Linked DNA regions of Homo sapiens: region 1 is linked to region 2. The links are contacts of gene promoters, found by promoter capture Hi-C in human tissues and cell types (Jung and others, 2019). All regions are on one chromosome and are shown on one strand. The core of a region is centred on a gene start or on the middle of the fragment in contact, and the rest is flanking DNA. Distances in the headings are between cores, read along the strand shown. Region 1 overlaps DDB2 (damage specific DNA binding protein 2). Region 2 holds the start of PTPMT1 (protein tyrosine phosphatase mitochondrial 1).

What was found. The method cuts DNA at HindIII sites, captures the fragments that hold promoters and counts their contacts. A contact is called where the count stands out against the background at its distance.
Region 1: a contact is called between a fragment that was not itself captured here and the fragment with the promoter of PTPMT1 in region 2, in 1 of the 25 tissues and cell types used here (spleen).

What each region holds. Positions count from the first base shown.
Region 1 is chr11:47,230,658-47,237,351 of GRCh38, reverse strand. DDB2 (damage specific DNA binding protein 2) reads right to left here. Exons shown (of 10, transcript NM_000107.3): 4 at 4,393-4,538; 5 at 2,680-2,779; 6 at 2,418-2,595; 7 at 1,940-2,082. Among named protein-coding and RNA genes, the nearest start is that of ACP2, 15 kb to the left of the region's middle. The HindIII fragment of the contact is 6,251 bases long and covers 1-5,654 here.
Region 2 is chr11:47,560,758-47,567,252 of GRCh38, reverse strand. PTPMT1 (protein tyrosine phosphatase mitochondrial 1) reads right to left here and starts at 1,654. Exons shown (of 4, transcript NM_175732.3): 1 at 1,457-1,654; 2 at 1,267-1,347. The coding sequence starts at 1,630. It also overlaps a transcript of CELF1 not described here. RefSeq lists silencers at 1,143-1,222, 1,353-1,832 and enhancers at 1,142-1,642, 1,643-2,143. The HindIII fragment of the contact is 19,699 bases long and covers 1-6,495 here.

The DNA.
Region 1 (6,694 bases), core at 1,280-3,779, 330 kb after region 2:
CCTCTGCCATTGCACATTTTTAATCCCTAGCTGGCCTCCCTGGCCCTTAGGGCACCTTCAGGCCTTCTCCCTCATTTGCATTTCCTAAGATCATACCAACTGGTAAACGTTTTAACATCAGCCTGACCCAGATACTGACCTAAGAGGCCTACAACAAAGCAGAAAAAGCCTCTGGTGACCAAACCCTAACAGGACTTGAGTTCTGGAGGAGCCCCACTGTCATCCTGTCTCCATCAACACGAATAACTAAGAGCTGAGTGTAAAATTGCTAATGGCTAAAAAAGAGAAGGAAACCCACATTCCCCAGATCACCCCACTAAAAACAAATCTGGCAGTTATTAAAATGGCAGAATTGGATGGGATTTTCCTAAACTTCTCAAGGAAGTTTTGAAGGAAGAAAGACATGGTTAGCAGGAAGGAAGAAATAGTACATGCGAAGGCTTAGAAATAAGTCACAAATCACACACAGGAAGCTGTAATGACTTACGACACCTGGCTAGATACAAACTGGGACATGCAGACAGATGGATTATCGGGAACACTGATGGATTAACAGGAACACCAACTGGGGAAGGATTCTTGACATTATTTATTAAGAGCTTGGATGTGATTGAGGTACGTGGGGGCCACTCAATATTCAATCATCATTTATTGAATACTTACCAGTACTTACCAGGTGCTGGGCATGGGGCCAAGTGCTTTAAGTATACTGACTCATCTTCACAACAACCCTATCAGTTAGAGACTAGTATTCCCTTTTTGCAGATGAGGAAACAGATCCAAAATATAAGTAATTTGCCCAAGGATTCTAACCCGGGGGGTCTGGCTGCTGGAAACTGGCGCTCCCCACCACTATTCTGAACTGACCAGAGAAGTATAGGCATAAAACCTGAAGATCTGAAGAGGATCTGTAGTTTTGGAAAAGAATGCAGAACTAGCAGAGCTCAGTCTGCATGGGGGCTTAGGCAAAAAGGCATCAAAGGACTTGAAAGCTATTAGTGTTGGGGACTAATGATAGAGAAGCTATTAACAAGAGCCTGAGAAAAGGTGGGAAAATAAAAGACTTATTTTTATTATTAGAAGCACTGAAACCTGCAAGACAAACTAAGAAGGCAAAGTTGCCAGGCGCAGTGGCTCATGCCTGTAATCCTAGCACTTTGGGAGGCCAAGGTTGGGGGATGGCTTCAACCTAGGAGTTCAAGACCAGCTTGGGCAACATGGCAAAACCCCATCTCTATAAAAAATAAAAAAATTAGCTGGGTATGGTGGCGCATACCTGTAGTCCAATCTACTTCCGAGGCTAAGGCGGAAGGATTGCTTGAACCCAGGAGGTTGAGGCTGCAGTGAGCTATGTTTGTGCCACTGCACTCCAGCCTGGGTGACAGAGCAAGACCGTTTCAAGAAAAAAAAAAAAAAAAAAAAAAAGGATCAGCCTGGGTAACACAAGAATACCCTGTCTCTACAAAAAAAAAAAAAGTGAGGCAGGAGGATCGCTTGAGCCTGGGAGATCAAGGCTGTAATGAACCATGCTTGCCCCACTGTACTCCCACCTGGGTGACAGAGCGAGACCCTGCCTTAAAAAAAATAATAAAAAAATAAAAAATGAAGGTTTGTGGGTCAACTGTACACAGGTAACTGAAGCTGAGAAGACAGAACAGAGGGTCAGGATCTTAGAAAATTCTCACAGTGAGATCAGAGCTGGGCTGAAAAAACTCAGAAAAATATCTTATCAGCGAGACAGAAAACTCAACCATATGGGATGGCAGAAGTGGGATAAAAGGAAGAGAGAGAGCCAATGGGTAAGAGATGCTCTGTGCTCGGGCCAGGAGCGATCTGGGGTGGCAGGCTTACCACATCAGCCCTTCCCCACTGTGGGCAGACCTGCTCCGGCCTCATGATCACAGCCTCCTTCTGCGAGCTCCTTCCCACCGCCACTCACCTTGATGGGTGTGAGGTGCTGGAAGTGACGGTGAGGGTGCGGGATCAGGCCCAGGGGGCAGTCCCACTGGGAAGCAGAGTAAACTCGGATCTCGCTCTTCTGGTCCGTGGTCAGGAGCCGGGCTCCATCGGGACTGAAACAAGCTGGCAAAGTGAAAAGCCCCTGAGCTGAAGGAACCACAAGCCCTCTGTGGTCCTGGCCTTGCAGGCCTTCTCCTGCAGGGGTACTCTCCCTCCCACTCCTCTCTAGACAGGAGCGGAAAGGAAGAGGTGAATCTGGGCTGTGAACAACAACAAAAAAATTCTGGAAACTCAGCAGCTGATGGGGACAGCCACAGCCACAAAGGTTCCCAGACATCAGCTTGGCAGACGCTATCAGGGGTAAAGGTTTGACGTAGTGGCTTCCACACTGAGGGAAAACCCCAGCAGTGGTCAGACAGGCAGGGTCTGCAGGAGAGATGAGGTCTGGGATATCACACCTGCGTTGACAGGATGCCTGTGCGGCAGCGAGTAGAGGAAGCTGGCTTTCCCTCTAACCTGGCGCAGGTCCCAAATTTTCACTGTTTGATCTACGGAGGCTGTGGCCAGGAACCAATCACAGCATGGGTTCAGGGCCACATGCGTCACTTTCTTTTTGTGCATTCTGAGATTCCAAAGCTGCAGAGAAGAGCTCGGTTCAGGTGGGGACACAGAACCGAGGTGGGGGTGAGGGAGGGAAAGGCAGGACCTCGGAGAACGCACCTCTTTGCCGTCCATGTTCAGCAGGATCACGTTCCCCACGTTGTCTCCTGTGACCACCATTCGGCTACTAGCAGACACATCCAGGCTACAAAACCAGATGCTGGAGGGAGAGACTGTGTTGTAAGATTCTTGGGGACAGAGATAGTCCTATTTACTCACTGTTGCCGCTCCGGTGACTAACCCACAGCGGGCATTCAATAAATATTTGTTGAATGAATGAATAACTGTCTTGCCGTGGATTCCTAGTGAGGAACATTCAGACTGCTCTACCGTCCAGACAGAGGGGATGGGATAATGGGGCTCAGAAATCTGTCTGGTTATGGCTGGGCCCAGGATCCCCAGCTCCTAAAAGTCCCTGAAGCAGACAAAGCTTATACCATAAAGCAAGCCCTGAGGCACGCCTGCCCCCCACACCCCGGGTTCTGAGCAAGCCTCCTTTACTGCTCTCTCCTTTCACTCTTCACCCTTTAGGCCAAAGGAGACACAAGCCAAAGAGGGATTGCCTGGCCCTGTTCCTCAGAGCTGGCTAGAAAAGCACTTCTGCCCCCTTCTGAACACTGGGGGAAAAAACACAACCAGGAGCTCTTCTGGTCCCTCAAACCACTGGACTGGGAGGCTGACTAGGAGGGTGCTTCAGGGATCCTGCTATTCAGCCAGAAGAGCTCAGCTCACAGTTTTTCTCTCAAACTCTCAAATCCATGCTACACTGCCTTTTGCCATCCCCTATGAATATCTTCAAGCAGGAAGATTTCTTGCGGAAGAGTAGCCTGGAGCCTTGTCTATCCAATTGCCTGCTGATTTGCGTGCGCATGCACTCCTCATCCCTGCGGGACAGCCCAGGATCCAATCCAATGCTAGTTACACCCCAGCACCCTCACTTAATTCCTCAGGGAGCAGTCAGAGTCACGGCTCTAGCTGGAAATCAAAGTGACGAGTATTCTGTAATTTTTTTTTTTTTTTTTTGAGATAGATTTTCGCTCTTGTTGCCCAGGATGGAGTGCAATGGCGCCATCTCGGCTCACTGCAACCTCTGCCTCCTGGGTTCAAGCGATTCTCTTGCTTCAGCCTCCCAAGTAGCTGGGAATTACAGGGGCCTACCACCACGCCCAGCTAATTTTTTGTATTGTTAGTAGAGATGGGGGTTTCACCATGTTGGCCAGGCTGGTCTCGAACTCCTGACCTCAGGTGATCCACCCACCTTGGCCTCCCAAAGTGCTGGGATTTCAAGCATGAGCCACTGCACCCGGCCGCATTCTGTAATTTCTCCAGCCACTTTCTCTTGGGAAGTCCAGAGCACTTTATGGAAAAGATTCCATCCATATAAGCTTCCACCCAGGAACAGGTCAGGTCATTACACCACAGTGAGTGCAGGGCATTCAGTCTCAAGTTCTGAGCTGTTGCTCCATTCTCTAGGTGGCTTTCTGGGTCCACGCCATGCTGGCTTATCTAGTGAGGGTCAAGGTCCAGTCTAATACAGGTATGACTTACAGAAGAGCTGAGGCTCCAGAACACCTTCCCAAAGCAGTAACCCACCTGGACCAAAGTGAGGGCAGCCAAGGAGCAGTTTGAGAAAGAGAAAGAAGGGCGGAAAGTGGCTGACATCTTTCCTTTCTTCCCTGGGCCAGGTTGGGTTAAGGAAATGGGATCTGGATGCTCTTGCCGGAACTACACCTAAGCTTAGAAGCCCTTTCCCCTGCTAGTTAAACTACTCACTTGATGGTGTCTGAGCTGGCAAAAACTCGTAGAATGTTGCCTTTAAAGTCTTGCAGCCTAGTTGTTCCCTCCATTGAGGAGGCGTAAAACTGGTTGGTATTGAGAGGGTTAAACTTCAGCCCAGTGATGCTCCCTCCAGCTCCAATCTAACACGAGGAAGGAAAAAGCCAGTGAGTGATGATGGGCCTGGCCGTGAGGAACCAGGCCTGGGCACACATGCTGCGCCGTCACAGAAGCACCCCTCGAGCAGCGCTTGGGGCCAGGTCAGCTTAGACACTAGGACGCTCTCTACAGGGCCTTCACTTCTTTTTCTTTTCCTTTGAAATAGGGTCTTTCTCTGTCACTTAGGCTGAAGTGCAGTGGCACAAACACGGCTCACTGCAGCCTCAATCTCCTGGGCTCAAGCGATCCTCCCACCTCAGCCTCCCAAGTGCGTGCCACCATGCCCAGCTAATTTTTCTATTTTTTTTTTTTAAGATGGGGTTTTGTCACGTTGCCCAAGCTGGTCTTGAACTCCTAAGCTCAAGCGATCCCCCTGCCACGGCTTCCCAAAGTGCTAAGATTACAGGCATGAGCCGCTTTGTCTGGCCCCTTCATTTCTTTCTTTTTTTTATTTTTATTTTTATTTTTATGTTTTTGAGATGGAGTCCTGCTCTGTCACGACCTCGGCTCACTGCAACCTCTGCCTTCCAGGTTCAAGCGATTCTCCTGCCTCAGCCTCCCAAGCAGCTGGGATTACAGGTGCCCACCACCACGCATGGCTAAATTGTATATTTTTAGTAGAGACAGGGTTTCACCATGTTGGCCAGGCTGGTCTGGAACTCCTGCCCTCAGGTAATCCGCCACCCTTGGCCTCCCAAAGTGCTGGGATTACAGGCGTGAGCCACCGTGCCCCGCCTCCCTTCATTTCTTAAGGCTTTATTTTTACTTTTTTTTTTAATTAACATATAGCAAATTTGGGATATAAAGTTCTCTGAATTTTAACATATGTATAGACTTAAATAACCACCACCCAAATCAGGATGCAGAACATTTGCAACAGCCCAAAAACTCCATCGTGGTATCCCATTGTAATCACACCCTCCCCTCGCCCCCAGCCCCTGGCTGATCTGTTCTCCATCACTATTGTTTTGCCCTCATAGAATGTCCTATAGACCGAGCACAGTAATCCCAACACCTGGGGAGACTGAGGCGGGGGGATTGCTTGAGGCCAGGAGTTCAAGACCAGCCTAAGCAATATAGGGAGACCCCATCTCTACACACACAAAAAAAATTTAGACATGGTGGTAGGTGCATGTGGTTCTAGCTACTCAGAAGGCTGAGGTGGGAAGATGACGGAAGCCTGGAGGTCGAGGCTGCAGTGAGTTGCGATCGAATCACTGCACTCTAGCGTGGGTGACAGAGCAAGACCCTGTCTCTAAAAATAAAATAAAATAAAATTAAAAATAGAATGTCATGTAAATGAATTAGGCAGTATGCAACCTTTTGAGACTGTCTTGTTTCATTTCACTCATCATGCCTCTGAGATTCATCTGAGTTTGCTGTATCAAGAGCTCATCTCATTTTATTGCTGAGGTATTCCATTACATGGATGTGCCCTAATTTGTTATTCCCACAGTGCTCTCTTTAGAAGAGCTTCAGCTCAGAGCAGTGGCTGAGTTAGGAGGGCAGGAGTCAGATCTGTGCCCCTTCCTATTCTTCCAAACATTCATGAAAATGATGATGAAAATAATCATGAGAATATCAATGGCTTAACCTTATTAAGTGCTTACTATGTACTAGGCGCTGGTTTTTTGGGGGGATTTTCTTTGTGTGTTTTTTTTTTTTTTTTTTTTTTTTTGAGATGAAGGCTTGCTCTGTCGCCCAGGCTGAAGTGCGGTGGCACAACCTCAGCTCACTGCAGCCTCCACCTCCTGGATTCCAGTGATCCTCCTGCCTCAGCCTCCTGAGTAGCTGGGATTACATGCCCACACCATCACACCCAGCTAATTTTTGTATTTTTAGTAAAGACAGGTTTCACCATGTTGGTCAGGCTGGTCTCGAACTCCTGACCTCAGGTGATTGGCCTGCCTCGGCTTCCCAAAGTGCTGGGATTACAGGCGTGAGCCACTGCGCCCAGTCAGGCACTGTTTTAAGAACTTTACATCCCCAAGATGTAAAGTTCTCCACTTGTCCGCCTTTCTCCACCTTTTCCACTTCTTCTTTACGCTGCAGCTATCCCAGCCTCACAGACCTGTACAAGTTCTTCTATGCAACAACCACTTAGCTATCACAACATACTAACTGGCACATTCCCTTCCCT
Region 2 (6,495 bases), core at 405-2,904:
TTTGTGTGATTTTAGTACAGACGGGGTTTCACCATTTTGGCCAGGCTGATCTCAAACTCCTGACCTCAGGTGATCCACCCACCTCAGCCTCCCAAAGTGCTGGGATTACAGGTGTGAGAGCCACCACGCCTGGCCAAGTCACAAATATTTTCAAGGTTTCAAAAAAATCCTCAGGTTGAAATAATAGTATCTTCATCATGCTATATCAGTAAAACAAATGAGAAAGATAATTGTTTAGTGCTATTAGATGCCAAACGCTATAAAGATAGGGCAACATTAAAAAAAAATCAAATAGCTCAGATTGTAGATAACATCTTCTAATAACCATTGTGGAAGATTCCACAAACAGGCCAGTCACATTTAATGAAAGTTATGTTTTAGGCCTAAACTTTGTTATGAGAGAACTTTGGAGTTCCACCATGATTTCTAATATATGACTAAAAATTCCCCCAAATCAGAGCCAAATGAACTCTACAGTTTTCAATGGATAGTTTTATGAAAAATCTGGGGAGGGGAGAGTGTTAAGGGGGTGCTTTTCGTCTTACAGTTGGCAGGGCCTTCATCTGGAATCCCTAACACTGGGAATGCTGACCCATACTCAGAGCTCAAAGTATAGAAAGAATGAATGAAATCAGGAAGGCATGGGAAAGTTGCCTTTCAATTTTAGTTTCTGATTTTGGTTACCGAAATAAGAATACATTACATTTGTTCACAAAGGAGAAATCAGGCTTTGTCAACTTCCACTTTTTTTTTTTTTTTTTTTGAGACATTGTTTCACTCCTGTCGCCCAAGGCTGGGCTGGAATGCAATGGCGAGATGTCGGCTCACTGCAACCTCCACCTCCCGGGCTAAAGTGATTCTCCTGCCTTAGCCTCCCAAGTAGCTGGGAGTACAGGCGCACGCCACCACTCCCGGCTACTTTTTGTATTTTTGTAGGGACGGGGGCCTCGCCATGTTGCCCAGGCTGGTCAGGAACTCCTGGGCTCAAGTGATCTGCCCGCCTCCTCCTCCCGCCTCCCAAAGTGCTGGGATTACAGGCGTGAGTCCCCGCGCCCGGCCCAACTTGAACTTTTAAATAAACGCCTTTCACAGCTTCTAGCCTACCTCCAGGTGCCATTTAGAGGCACAGACCGGAGGCAAAGCAGCTTGAGACACCTGGCTCCGGTGCATGGTGACCTCCCCCACACTTCTCTAGCCGTCCCAGGCTCAGGGCGGTGGGCGAGGGGGAGCGGGCCCCCGAGCCTGCCCCTCGGCCCGGTCCCTCACCTGTGAAGAGTTGCACAGGAACCTCGTCTCGTACTCCTCGTTCATGGTGATCACCCCGCGCACGTTCTCGTCCTGTACCAGCTGCCGAGGCAAAGAGGTGGCTCAGCAAAGACGGTGGAGACCCCAGCGGCCCGACAGGGACGGAGCGGCGGGGACGGGGCAGGGGCCCGGGCTCCCCGGCCCGGCTCACCTGGCGCGTCAAGCTCCGCAACGGCAGCGCGCCCAGCAGCACGGTGGGGTCGATGCGGTGGTACCAGTCCCGGTGCGCCCGACCCGGCACCTTCCCGCGGAACAGGGTGTAGAGCAGCGTCGGGTAGAAGAGCACCCGCGCCAGGCCGGCCTCCAGCAGCGCGGTGGCCGCCATCCCGGCCCGGCGCAGCGGCGACCCGTCGGCCCCCGCGCTCGCGGTCCGGACCCGCGAGAAGAGCAGGCGGGTGCCGGGGCGGGGCTGCCAGCTGCACTAGGCCTCTCGCGGGCTCGCACCGGGTGACGGCGGGGACTGGCCTGGACTCTGGGGGACTGGCGGGACTCTGGAGGAGGGCCCGGCGGCCTCGGAGGAGGGACCGAGGTTTCCTGGGCGGGAAACTGGGACCCCGGCGAAGGGAGAGCGCGTCGCAGGCCAGACACGTGTGAGCCCTGTAGCGTGGGAAACTGAGGCCCCCGCCTGTGGCCGGTGACCTCCCTCCTCCGAGGGAGGGGGGTTGTGACCCCAGGTGAGAGGGGCAGGAAGGACCCCTGCGTGTGGAACTGTGACTCCGGCCGAGGGAGGAGGGGACACTCCCCCCAACCCTCGACCAGAGGAAGGGGGCAGTGACCCAGGTGCGGGTGTGACCCCGCCAAAGGGAAGACAAGACAAGGAGAGGCTGTGTGGCGGGGTAGCCCTGAAGAGGACAGTGGAAGGGCTTAGAGCTTTCAAACAGAGGAGCTACCTGGGTGAGGGCCTGATCCCAGGGTGAACAGGGGTCCTGGGTTGAGGTCGCCTTCCTCCTCCCCTCCCCTGTCCTAGGGCAGGGCTCCCTCCTTCATCTGACCAAACAGCAGTGTTTACATAGCAGGAAAAAATAGGAAAATATACATTATATTAATATATCCTTAAGAAAAATATTATGAAGAGCTCAAATATAAAACCTGCAACCTACAAAAAGGTAAGAAGAATGGTTGTAATGCCAGCTATTTACTTTTTGTTTGTTTGTTTTGAGACGGAGTCTCACTCTGTTGCCCAGGCTAGAGGGCAGTCGCAAGATCTCAGCTCACTGCAACCTCCGCCTCCCGGGTTCAAACGATTCTCCTGCCTCAGCCTCCTGAGTAGCTGGGATTACAGGTGCATGCCACCACACCCAGCTAACTTTTGTTTTTAGTAGAGACGAGGTTTCACCTTGTCAGCCAGGCTGGTCTCGAACCTAAGGTGATCCGCCCACCTCAGCCTCCCAAAGTGCTGGCATTACAGGCATGAGCCACTGCACCCGGCCCAAGCATCTGGTGGAGTTTTTGTTTTTTGTTTTTTGTTTTTGAGACAGAGTTTCACTATTGTCACCCAAGCTGCAGTGCAATGGCGTGATCTCAGCACACTGCAACCTCTGCCTCCCAGGTTCAAGCAATTCTCCTGCCTCAGCCTCCCGAGTAGCTGGGATTACAGGTACATGTCACCACGCCCAGCTAAGTTTTGTATTTTTAGTGAGATGGCTTCAACATGTTGACCAGGCTGGTCTCAAACTCCTGACCTCAGGTGATCCATCCCCCTGGCCTCCCAAAGTGCCAGGATTACAGGCATGAGCCACCGCGCCCGGCTTTCTTTTTTTTTTTTTTTTTTTTTTTGTATTTTTAGTAGAGATGGGGTTTCACCATGTTGGCCAGGCTAGTCTTGAACTCCTGACCTATGGTGATCTGCCAGCCTCAGCCTCCCAAAGTGTTGGGATTACAGGCATGAGCCACACGCCCGGCCCAAGCATCTGGTGGAGATTTTGTTTGTTTGTTTGTTTTTAAGATAGAGTTTCACTCTTGTCACCCAAGCTGGAGTGCAATGGCGTGATCTCAGCTCACTGCAACCTCTGCCTCCCAGGTTCAAGCAATTCTCCTGCCTCAGCCTCCCGAGTAGCTGCCACCACGCCCAGCTAAGTTTTGTATTTTTAGTAGAGACAGGGTTTCACCATGTTGGCCAGACTGGTCTCAAAGTCCTGACCTGAGGAGATCCGTCCCCCTCGGCCTTCCAAAGTGCCGGGATTACAGGCATAAGCCACCATGCCCGGCCCATCTGGTGGTTTTAAAAGATTCATTTTCTTTTTTTTATATTTTGTTTTTGAGACGGAGTCTCCTTCTATTGACTAGGCTGAAGTGTAGTGGCGCCATCTCCACTCACTGCAACCTCCACCTCCCGGGTTCAAGCAGTTCTCCTGCCTCATCCTCCCCAGTAGCTAGAACTACAGGTGCCCGCCACCATGCCTGGCTAATTTTGTGTGTGTTTTTAATAGAGATGGGGTTTCACCATGTTGGCCGGGCTGCTCTTGAACTCCTGACCTCAGGTGTTCCACCCGCCTTGGTCTCCCAAAGTGCTGGGATTACAGGCATGAGCCACCGCACCCAGCCTAATTTTAGAATATTTTCATTGCCCTCAAAATAAGCCCCTTATGAATTAGCAGAGACTCACCATTTTCTCCCAATCATCCTCCAGCCTTAGGCAAACACTACTAACCTGCTTTCTGACTGTATAGATTTACATGTTTAGCATGTTGAGGGCATTTCTTCTTTTTACTTTTCTTTTTTTTTTTTCTAGGAAACAGGGTCTCACTGTCACCCAGGCTAGAGTGCAGTGGCAGCGTGATCATGACTCACTGTAGCCCCGACCTTTTGGGTGCAAGCAGTCCTCCTACCTCAGCCTCCCAAGGAGTTGAGACTACAGACGTGTGCCACGATACCTGGCTAATTTTTTATTATTTGTAGCGATGGGGTCTCACTATGTTGCCCAAACTGATCTCGGGACTGGGCACAGTGGCTCACACCTGTAATCCCAGCACTTTGGGAGGCGGAGGCAGAGGCAGGCAGATCACCTGAGGTCAGGAGTTTGAGACCAGCCTGGCCAACATGGTGAAACCCCGTCTCTACTAAAAAAATACAAAAATTAGCCAGGTATAATAGTGGGCGCCTGTAATCCCAGCTACTTGGGAGGCTGAGGCAGGAGAATCACTTGAACCCAGGAGGCGGAGTTTGTGATAAGCCAAGATCGCGCCACTGCACTTCAGCCTGGGTGACAGAGTGAGACTCCATATCAAAAAAAAAACAAAACAAAACAAAAAAAAACTGATCTGGAACTCCTGGGCTCAAACAATCCTCCTGATTTGGCCTCCCAAAGTACTGGGATTACAGGTCTGAACCACTGCATCCAGCCTAGGGTATTTCAAATAAATGGAGTCATACAATATGTGTTCTTTGTATCTGGCTGCTTTTTTTTTTTTTTTTTTTTGAGATAGAGTTTCACTCCTGTTGCCCAGGCTGGAGTGCAATGGTGTGATCTTAGCTCACTGCAACCTCTACCTCCTGGGCTCAAGCAATTCTCCCACCTCAGCCTCCTGAGTAGCTGGGACCACAGGTGCGTACCACCACACCTGGTGGCGAATTTTTGTATTTTTGGTAGAGACAGGCTTTCACCATATTGCCCAGGTTGGTCTCGAACTCCTGGACTCAAGCGATCTGCCTGCCTCAGCCTCTCTAAGTGCTGGCATTACAGGTGTGAGCCACCCCACCCAACTTTTTTTTTTTTTTTTTTGAGATGGAGTTTCGCTCTTGTTACCCAGGCTGGAGTGCAATGGCACAATCTCAGCTCACCACAACCTCCGCCTCTCAGGTTCAAGCAATTCTCCTGCCTCAGCCTCCCTAGTATCTGGGATTACAGGTATGCACCACCACTCCTGGCTAATTTTGTATTTTTAGTAGAGACGGGGTTTCTCCATGTTGGTTAGCCTGGTCTCGAACTCCCGACCTCAGGTGATCAGCCTGCCTCGGCCTCCCAAAGTGCTGGGATTACAGGTGTGAGCCACTGCGCCCAGCTTTTTTTTTTTCTTAATAGATATCACTTGTGTGTTGATACCTGTCTTATGCTTAGAATGTTTTCAAGGTTCGTCCATGTTGTAGCAAGTATCAGGACTGTCCTTCTTTTTATTGCCAAATAATATTTCAATGTATGGACAGACCACATGTTTTTCTCCATTTATCAGTTTATGAACATTTGAGTTGTTTCCACTTTTGGCTATTTTGAACAATGCTGCTGGGAACATTTGCATACAACTTACGGACATAGGTTTTCATTTCTCTTGTATATTTGACTAATCATGGAATTGTTAGGTCATAGGGTAGTACAGTGTTTAACCTTTTGAAGAACTGTCAGTTTTCCAAAGTGGACTGCACCTTTTTGCATCCCCACCAGGAGAGTATGGAGGGTTCCAATGTTGCCACATGGTTGCCAACACTTATTATCTGTCTTTCATTATAGCCATTTTAGTGGGTGTGGTGTCTCTTTGTGGAATAAACTTTTTTTTTTTTTTTTTTTTTTTGAGACGGAGTCTCGTTCTGTCGCCCAGGCTGGAGTGCAGTGGTGCGATCTCGGCTCACTGCAAGCTCCGCCTCCTGGGTTCATGCCATTCTCCTGCCTCAGCCTCCCAAGTAGCTGGGACTACAGGCGCCCGCTACCACACCCGGCTTATTTTTTGTATTTTTAGTAGAGATGGGTTTCTCCGTGTTAGCCAGGATGGTCTCAATCTCCTGACCTCGTGATCCACCTGTCTCGGCCTCCCAAAATGCTGGGATTACAGGCCTGAGCCACCTCACCCAGCGAAATACACTTTTTTTTTTTTTTTTTGAGACAGAGTCTCACTCTGTTGCCCAGGCTAGAGTGCAGTGGCATGATCTCCACTCAATACAAGCTCTGCCTCCCGGGCTCATGCCATTCTCCTGCCTCTGCCTCTCAAGTAGCTGGGACTACAGGCGCCCACCACCACGCCCGGCTAATTTTTTGTATTTTTAGTAGAGACGGGGTTTCACCATATTAGCCAGGATGGTCTCGATCTCCTGACCTCGTGATCTGTCCGCCTCGGACTCCCAAAGTGCTGGGCTTACAGGCGTGAGCCACTGCGCCCAGCCAGAATAAACTTTTAAATGTGGAATAATTTAGATGCACAGAAAGGTTTTAAAAATAGTACTGAGAGTCCATTATGCCCACCCCCCTCCAATGTTAACATT